Linked DNA regions of Homo sapiens: regions 1 and 3 are each linked to region 2. Evidence: promoter capture Hi-C in 16 types of primary human blood cells and fetal thymus (Javierre and others, 2016). All regions are on one chromosome and are shown on one strand. The core of a region is centred on a gene start or on the middle of the fragment in contact, and the rest is flanking DNA. Distances in the headings are between cores, read along the strand shown. Region 1 holds the start of IWS1 (interacts with SUPT6H, CTD assembly factor 1). Region 2 overlaps LINC02572 (long intergenic non-protein coding RNA 2572). Region 3 holds the start of ERCC3 (ERCC excision repair 3, TFIIH core complex helicase subunit).

Region 1 (2,962 bases), core at 380-2,879, 2.3 Mb before region 2:
ATCAGGAAAGTGTTTTTTTGTTTTTGTTTTTGTTTTTGTTTTTTTTGAGACAGAGTCTTGCTCTGTCGCCCAGGCTTGGAGTGCAGTGGTGCAACTTCCGCTCACTGCAACCTCTGCCTCCCGGGCTCAGGGCTCAAAGGATCCTCCCACTTCAGCCTCCTGAGTAACTGGGACTACAGGTGTATGCCACCACACTCGGCTAATTTTTGCATTTTTTTGTAGAGACGAAGTAGGGGGGTGGGGTAGGGGCGTAGGGGGGTGGGGTACGGGCATGGGGGGTGGGGGTGGTGTTGGTCTCACTATGTTGCCCAGGCTGGTCTCGAACTCCTGGGCTCAAGCCATCGGCCGCCTACGCCTCCCAAAGTGCTGGGATTACAGGCATAATCCACCGCACCTGGCTTAGGAAAGTGTTTTTAAGCAGTGCATGCCTGGAAAACGCTTTGCAGTCATTAGAATTCACTGTCCTACGTAAGGAAAAGCAATGAACTCAAAACAGTAAAGGGCTTAACGCTTAAACAATTATTTAAGCACTCAAGTTTTCTTTTTAATTTTCAATTTTTGTGGGTACATAGAGGGTGTATTTATTTATGGTGTATTTAAGAACTTTTGTAACAGAACGCCCCAACAGGACTAGCACACAAAGGGAAAGCAAATGCGACGTGTTTCCCACACCAGGTTCTGCCTCACTTATCCTTAATCTCAGGTGCCAAGCACCGTGCCAGCAGAGTGGGCCCCAGTAACAGCTTACAGAATAAACAAACAGTAAAGAAAGGAGACCAAACTTCGGTGAGGAGGAAGAGGAACGATCTCAAGGTGGAGGAAAGGCACAAAAACCACCAGTAAGTGCCAGAAGCGCATTCCTTACTCTATGCATGCAACTGAAACATGGGTCCTGCACTTACGTCCGGTGTTGCAAGCAAGATTAAACCACTCCTAACTAGCAGTGAAAAGTCTAGGAAGGATCCCCCGCCCCAACGCCCCTTGGATTCTCCAACTACTCAACTACTGAAAACTCTCTTAACAGAAGACACCTCTCCTTCCCTGCACACAATAGGAGCTTAACATATGAAAGTGACTTCCCAATTTCAGCAAAAACCTTCGCCGATTCAGAAGAAAGCTTTCCCACCAGAATCCCCTCTCCAACGTTCTAGCTTCGACGCTTGCAGCTGGTCAGAGGGCTCTTGCCCTCCTCGGGCCGGGTCGCGGGAGGGAAGGTTTCGGGGGGCCTCCTTGCCCCCACCCGCGGGGTGCCAGGCCAAGCCCCGCCGAGTAACTGCTCCGCCTCCCAGCCCGGTCCCCCAGGTCCCTGCCCCACCTGACTGGTCGCCGCTGTAATATTCCGAGTCCATGGCAGGCGGACTCTCAGCGGGGAGTGTCCGCGCCCCGCGCCGCCCCCGTCACCTCCTTCCAGGCGGTGTGACCCCGGATGGCGCGGCTAAGTGTTCAGAGACTGCCGCCCGACCGGAGAACTTAACGGGTGCGGAGGGTAAGAAAGCGGTAGCGGCAAAGGCGAATTCTTTGACCTGGAAGCCCCGGCGGAAAAGGCCGTACCCGGCAGGCTGGCGGGCGGGCAGGCATGCGAGCCGGCGTTCTACTTCCTAGAAGCACCGCTGGGGCCAAAATGGCGTCTGCCCACGACCCTCAAAGGAATGCAGCGCGCAGGCGCCGCAACCCGTCAACCGGCCAATGAGAAGACGCAACAGCAATGACGCCAGGCACGGCCGGAAAGGAGACTCCTGGGAAAATTGAGCTGGAACTCGGGCTTTAGTTAAATACCTTCCTCGGGTGGATCCTGGTCTGACCCCCGTGGTAATAACGTTATCATTGATTCTTTATCATTTCCTAGATTCTGTGTCCGTGCCTTGTTTGAAGAGCTTTTGAGATACTCTTCCGAAAAATGAAGACCTGCTCAAATGACTTTTCCGTCATTCAGCCAAACCACTGTCTTTCCCGTCAGGCCCAGAGGCGCCTGGTTCCCGCCCGCAGTAGGCAAGAAAGCGGGCGTTGCTCACTGGGACTTGTAGTATGACGCCCGCGAGCTGTGATGCGTTACTAACTGGCGCGATCCACAGCGCCTCCTCTCCCGGCGTCTTCCTCTCTTTCATTCTAAACAACGATTTAATTTCCTTGTTAAGAAGCCATTTAGCCAACAGTAAGAAGTACACGTCTTTGCTTCCAGAAGGGTTCCCCTGATGAAACACCGGAGGAAGGTGAAGTTGAACTTTACCTGAGCCCTGTGTTCCTGGAAAACAGCGGTGATTAAGAAACCCCCTCATCTATTTGTGTTTCTGGAACGGCACACTGTAAAGAACCACCCGTCTCCATGTGACTCAGATAAAACGCGTGCAGATGACCCCCTTGTTTGCCTGTGACAAGGCCAGAGACCTTTCCCCTTTATTCTGAGCCTGTTAATAAAGCCAAACAGACCTTCCAAATTCCCGCTGATGATATCGAGTGATTAGTTGAGATTAGAACTCTCCTCCCCCCAACTTGTTAGACACAGAGAACATTTCCTGTTCACCTGACTGAAACTTCTCCTGATTGCAAAACAATCCCAACTGTCAATCATCCCACCTTCCTCCCTATAAAAGTCAAAACTACGCTGCCAAGACACTGATCATATCTGGAGTGCTCTCCCTATTGCAATAGGCTGAGTAAAATCCATTTCCTTACTTGTTCATTTTAGTCTTGGACAGAGAGGGGAACATTCTTGCCTTTGGATCGGAGGAGGGCCAGTAGAGGTTTAAGCAAAGACTCCCCAGGAGGTGTAGACATGTAGAAAAAGAGCCTTTTGTTACTACTGCAGATATCTGACCCTTCGTTAGCCAGTCAGAGTATGCTGGCAGAGCCCAATTATAGGCTCCTGAAGAGGACGTGGGAAGAGAAGAAAGGGGAGAAGTGGTTTCTCTCTGGAAATTCCCATTTTCCTGCAAGAGAGTTCATGGATATTCCTTTCCGAAGT
Region 2 (3,083 bases), core at 255-2,754:
CCTCTCCTCCTGTATTTCCAGTAATAGTGAATGTGCGAATGTCTCAGCTACTCACCTAATCACCCAACCCAGAGGCCCAGACACTTTCCTAGACAACTCTGCCTTCCAGTGAGCACCAAGTGCTTCCTTAATATTTTTTCCAACTACATCTGTTCCTGTCCCCACTGCCCCTGCCTACATTCAGCCTCACTAATCCCCAGGCTTGGATGCTGATAAATGACTTGAGTGGCAACTACAAAACAGCTAATGAAGCTCCCCACATCCTCCCACCAGGGCCTCCACAGAGCTGGTATGAACTACAGAAAGGGGCAGTTACTTTCCCCATGACGCTGTCATTCCCATTCGTATTGCAAAGCCTCTATTTTTTAATTTGTCCCACAGCATGACAGACCCCAAACGCACATTTACTACTGGTATAGATACACATATTAAGACCAGTGGTGACTGTTACAGCTCACATAAAAGCTGAGTTCCATTGCTTGGGCTGACTTTATGTGTGGGGGGAATGCAAGCCTCTAGAATCCCATGAGAACTGACTTCTATATTGGGTGCTTTTCTGTCTCCTCCTGTGTCTCTCACATAAGACCCATCAATGAATGCTATTAAGTTAACATGGGAATAAGACTATATGATGAATCAGATGGAGGCCATGCATCTTCATTGAGGGCTGCGAGGTGGTTGTGCTGCTGTCCAGTCAGGATCTGGCAACAGAGTCACTGGGCTCAAAGTTCACACCTTCCTAGAATCCCACTAGGGTCAGCCAGTAACGCTTACAGAGCACTGACAAGTGCTGTGTCATAGGAACTTCAAAAAGCAGCAGCAACAGGCCAGGTGTGGTGGCTCACACCTGTAATCCCAGCACTTTGGGAGGCCAAGGTGGGTGGATCACTTGAGGTCAGGAGTTCAAGACCAGCCTGACCAACGTGGTGAAACCCTGTCTCTACTACAAATACAAAAATTAGCCGGGCATGATGGTGCACACCTGTAATCCTAGCTTGGGAGGCTAAGGCAGAAGAATCGCTTGAACCCGGGAGGTGGAGGTTGCAGTAAGCGCCATTGTACTCCAGCCTGGGCAACAGTTAGACTCTGTCTCAAAAAAAAAAACAAAAAAACACACACACAAAAAAACAAAAAAAAACACACAAAAAAAAACAAAAACAAAAAAAACAAAGCAGCAGCAACAGCACAAGGCCCAAACAATTACATCCCCGAGCCAAGGCCTGCACCTTCCCAAGCAGAGACCCAATGTTGGAATGACTTCTAAACAGCCTGGCATCCCTGGAGCAACAGAATCCAGTGGTACATGAAAGCCAACCAAAGGCTAGTGTTTGAGGAAGCATACCCATCACTAACAGCACCCTTGCTCTCCTTACAGAAAAGGGAGAAGAGATGACCAGCTAGGAACTGACTCCAAGTACAGGCAGGAAAACAATGGCTACTTAAGGATCTGAAGGCTTTTTTAGCTTCTCCTAGCTATTGCAAAAATGCACCTAGCGATGCTTCATGTAGCACCACCATGAGTGGCTTGCCTCTCAGAAGAGACAGGGACCCGTTGCCTGCGATGCACACCAACCTCAAAAGGGTGGAGCTATTTCTTCGCAGTGACAGAGCTGTTGCTACATGGAGCTATTGCTTCATTTGTAAAAGAGGTGGCTTTGGGGACAGAACTATTTCCCATCCATCAGCCAATAACAAATATTCCAAATACTTGACCTCGGTCTAACGATGTTGGAAATTATCTAAAGGAGCTTTATGCCCTTTAGAAGCTAGAATTTTCGTAAAGCTAATATATCTTGTTTTTGTTTTGGGGACAGGGTCTCACTCTGTCACCCATACTAGAGTGCAGTGGTGCGAGCTCGGCTCACTGTAACCTCCACCTCCCAGGCTCAAGTGATCCTCCCACCTCAGCCTCTCAAGTAACTGGGACTACAGGCACCCACCACCAGGCCTGGCTCATTTTTATAAGTTTTTGTAGAGATAGGGTTTCACCATGTTGCCCAAGCTGGTCTCGAACTCTAAGCTCAAGCAATCTGCCCACCTCAGCCTCCCAAAGTGCTGGTTTTGCAGGCATGAGTCACCATGTCTGGCCTAATATATCTTGTTAGCACATGAGGTGTTACCTATCAATAAATCATCCATATATATCCATATATGGACTCCTGAGGTGGGGGAAGTTTCTTTAAGTTCTTTTGTAAATGCCTAGAGATTATAGTTGGCAAATCTCTGAATCCCTGGGGGATGCATTGCCACCAATATGGAAAGCCTTCATAGGTAAACACAAAGAGATACCTTGGTTCCTCTGCTGAAGGTATAGAAAAGAAAGCTCAACATAAGTCTATTACTAAAATTAGTTAGGTCACACAATAGGAGGCTAAGAGGTTGAGTACTACAACTGTCAGACATACCAAAAATATATTTCTATCAGATTTTGTAAAAATATGTAAGCAAGCTAAACTTCTTTGTCAGTTTCCCTTCCTTTTTCATAGGTAATATAGGAAGACTATTACAAGGCAAATGTCCTTTCTTTATGATTCTCTTTCTAGTTCTCTAATTACAGGTTCAATTCCCCGTATTTGAGCTAGGGAGAGGATATAGCTTTACACATGACCATAATTTTTCTTTGGTGTAAGCTACGACAGTAGGGTCAATCAAATGATAGACTTAATGAGTCAATGTGTTTAAGAAAGACTTCAGCAAACAAGGCCTCTTGTCTGACCGAAGATGGCTACACATCCTCCAATTTGCCCAGTGGAAAGGCTCACTCAAGGTGTCCCATCCTTGTCACCAAACTTGTGGGGGCAGAAAGGAAACCAACACCCAAAGGAACATGCCAATTCAAAAAATAGAGAATGATTAGATAATTCTATTATTTAGAAAAAACCTGAATGCATTCAGGTAGTCAGCAAGTGTCTACACAGCTATGGTAGATTTTTAGCTCTATTGTTATGGAATTAAAGCTACAGTTACTATCCCTCATTCCGTTTTTAGTAAACAGCCAGAAGCTATTCAATTTGCATCAGTAGTTACGTTGAGTTTACCCTGATGGCCTGATTTTTATAATTCTTTATCAGGCTTACCCTGAT
Region 3 (3,146 bases), core at 520-3,019, 2.6 Mb before region 2:
TCACCCAGAACACAATGCTGGATCCAGAGTGTAGCGGCTCATGAGAAGCATGGCCTCACCCAGAACACAATGCTGGATCCAGAGTGTAGCGGCTGGGGTAATCAGTCGTTATGCTCCCCACAGGAAATCTGAATGGCACATTCTCATGGCTGCCACAGGCTGACAACATGGAGCACCTATGCCTATTGTTACATTAGCAGGGCAGGTGGAATTGCTGGTCTCAGCTGTCACTTGCCTTAATAAACTGCATAATTCCATCAGGGACTCCAGTCTTGCTGAGCTTCCTGAGGTACTCGGTGATGTCACTGGTTTGCAGCCCAACGCTGACAGCTGCATACAAGGAGTAGGCAGTTAGTTTGTACTCATGCACATGGGTTGGTCGGCACACTGGCTCTGCAATAGCCACCAAGAAGTCTTGGGCATATTTGTAAACTGGAGAGAAGGCTTCCAAGAAGATATGGCCATCGGGAGCCTGAGAGATACCAAATGGACAAAACAGACAAGGAAACATGAGTTGCAGAGACTACTGGGCTCTTGCCCATATCATTATCAAGAAAGAATAAGCTGCCCAACACCACAGATATTCTTGCAAGCACTCCTTCAGACAACTGTGGGGCCTGTTACATTAATCAGATACAGAAGAGTAAAGAAAAATAGAAGAAAGTGTTTCCAAAGTCAACAGCTGTTTCCTACTATTCTGCACAGAGAAAGCCCATCTTACTGGCTATCCTCAAGTTACCTTTTGGCTAGATTTCAACTAAATGTATAACATTAATTATTTAAAGTAGAGCAAAAGCTTGCTACCGAACATGTCTTCCATTATTTGAGGAAACAAACTGTTACATGATAAATGCTATTTATTCGGCAGATAAAAGGATTCACTACATGGGGTAGGGCTGGGGAAGGAGTGAGAGTAAACCGAGGGGTTAGAGCTGTTGGAAGCCCAGGTCCGGCCGCCACACGTGTGCGCAACTGCTCGCTGTTGCCTTGGGCTGTTCCAACGTGTGTGGATGAAAATTCTCTCCCGGCCAGTTCTAGGGGCAGTATCCTGAATGTCAGTTTTGACTCTGAGGATGCCCAAGATTTAGCTGCCGCTCCGCACACTCCTGGGCCCTGCCCAAGCTAAGGGCATGCTTACCACCCAGAGGGGCCTGGAGGTGTGGTCGTCCTTCAGCGGCATTTGCAGCCTGTAGTCCTTGGCTCCATATTCATCCACTTTGGTGCCTGACTCATCCACCTGCTTCCCCGCCGCCGAGGGAACCGCTTCCTGAGGGTCGTTCCCCGGGGCGTCCTCTTCATCATCCTCTTCATCCTCATAGTGCCGCTTCCTGGATTTCTTCTTGTCTGCAAGATACCAACACAGAAGTAAGCCCAGCAGGAGCCTTCAGGGTTCCCTCCGCACCGCTTGGCAGCATTTCACCTGCGCCGCCGCAAACTCCTAGCTAAGAGCCACCTGCATCCCGCAGGCGTTGCGCCCCTCACCCGTCTCCCCTAGGCCGAGTTCGCTGGGCTGCGCCCAGGTCCAGCATCTCTCCCGCCCAAAGGCCTGTCCCAACGGGGTGCGCGCGGGAGGGCCAGCAGGGTCGGCCGGCGCAGAGGCCCGGAGCAGCTCCGAGGCAGAGCGGGGGGCAGGGCCGGCAAGGGCAGTCGTGGCTGAGCGTGCCCGCGCAACGTCTCACCGCGGTCCGCTCGGTCTCTTTTGCCCATGGCAGCTACAGCAGCAGAGAGAAGATGACCCCGCTCCCACAGGCCCGCCGCGGCATCCGCTCTGGGGGGACTTCCGGCTCAATCCGGAAGCTCCCTGTTGTCCACACAGGATGTCCCGCCTCTAGGCGCCGTGATGTGGGTGGCTGGAAGAGCGGAGAGCCAGCGACCGCCGATCTGTTAGCTCGTGCGACCCAGCGGCGGGGGTCCTCCACTGTTCATTTCTCTACAACTGAAGGAAAATACTGTGTGTTGAGCACCTGTGTAGTGCGCGAATTAAAGGCCTCATCCTTCTGGAACTTAAATTTTAATGAAGCCATGTGGGCAATAAATGTGTGTGTGAGAGAGAGAGAGAGAGAATGTGACCTGAGTCCATGGGTAAGGAAGAATTCTTTTTTTTAATTAAAAAAAATTTGGCTGAGCACGGTGGCTCACGCCTGTAATTCCAGCACTTTGGGAGGCTGAGGTGGGTGGATCACTTGAGGTCAGGAGTTCGAGGCCAGCCTGGCCAACATGGTGAAACCCCATCTCTGCGAAAAATACAAAAAAAAGTAGCCAGGCATGGTGGCACACGCCTGTAGTCTAAGCTACTTGGGAGGCTGAGATGGGAGAATCTCTTGAACCCAGAAGGTAAAGGCTGCACTGAGCTGAGATTGCACCACTGCACTACAGCCTGGGCGACAGGCCGAGAGTTCGTCTCAAAAAAAATTTTTTTCTTTTTTTTTTTTTTTTTTTTGAGACGGAGTCTCGCCCTGTCGCCCAGGCTGGAATGCAGTGGCGCGATTTCAGCTCACTGCAAGCTCCGCCTCCCGGGTTCATGCCATTCTCATGTCTCAGCCTAAATAAAGCAGATTACCCTCAATAATGCGGGTGGGCCTCATCCAAATCAGTTGAAGGCCTTAAGAGCAAAGACAGGTTTCTCAAGGAAAAAGGAATTCTGCCTCCAGACTGCAACACAGAAAGTTCTGACTGAGTTTCCAGCCTTTGGACTCAAAACTACAACATCAACTCGTACCTGAATTCCCAACTTGCCAACCCCCACAATTGCATGAGCCAATTCTTTAAAATCAATCAATCAATCTCGCTTGCTCAGTGGGCCTCTTGGTTCTGTTTCTCTGGAGAACGTAACACAGATTTTTGGTACGGGGAATAGGGTACTGCTGTAACAAATACCTAACAATGGGGAAGTGGTTTTCAAATTGGGTAATCGGTAGAGGCTGAAAGAATTTTGAGGCGCATGATAGAAAAGCCTCTATTGTCTTGAAGAGCCTTGGTAGAAGTATGGGCATTAAAGGTGATTCTGGTGACGGCTCAGATGGAAAGGAGAAATATGTTATTGAAACTGGAGGCAAGTGGTAGAGAGCTTGCCTGAATTGTATTCTGTTGGGTGGAAAGTAGAACTTATAAGTGATAAGCTTGGACATTTTGCTGAGGAAATTTCT

What was found. The method cuts DNA at HindIII sites, captures the fragments that hold promoters and counts their contacts. A CHiCAGO score of 5 or more calls a contact.
Region 1: a contact is called between the fragment with the promoter of IWS1 here and a fragment that was not itself captured in region 2, in 1 of 17 cell types (fetal thymus). The highest score is 5.6, in fetal thymus.
Region 3: the fragment with the promoter of ERCC3 here is called in contact with a fragment that was not itself captured in region 2 in 1 of 17 cell types (fetal thymus); the score reaches 8.1 in fetal thymus.

What each region holds. Positions count from the first base shown.
Region 1 is chr2:127,524,860-127,527,821 of GRCh38, forward strand. It overlaps IWS1 (interacts with SUPT6H, CTD assembly factor 1), which reads right to left and starts at 1,630. Exons shown (of 14, transcript NM_017969.3): 1 at 1,316-1,630. The coding sequence starts at 1,349. RefSeq lists enhancers at 840-1,539, 870-949, 960-1,019, 1,550-1,609, 1,870-1,919 and 1 more and silencers at 1,200-1,309, 1,951-2,124. The HindIII fragment of the contact is 4,097 bases long and covers 1,116-2,962 here.
Region 2 is chr2:129,873,569-129,876,651 of GRCh38, forward strand. The region is part of intron 1 of LINC02572 (long intergenic non-protein coding RNA 2572); the gene reads right to left. Among named protein-coding and RNA genes, the nearest start is that of LINC02572, 2.4 kb to the right of the region's middle. The HindIII fragment of the contact is 4,386 bases long and covers 1-3,083 here.
Region 3 is chr2:127,292,375-127,295,520 of GRCh38, forward strand. It overlaps ERCC3 (ERCC excision repair 3, TFIIH core complex helicase subunit), which reads right to left and starts at 1,770. Exons shown (of 15, transcript NM_000122.2): 1 at 1,680-1,770; 2 at 1,139-1,344; 3 at 236-472. The coding sequence starts at 1,707. The HindIII fragment of the contact is 2,323 bases long and covers 795-3,117 here.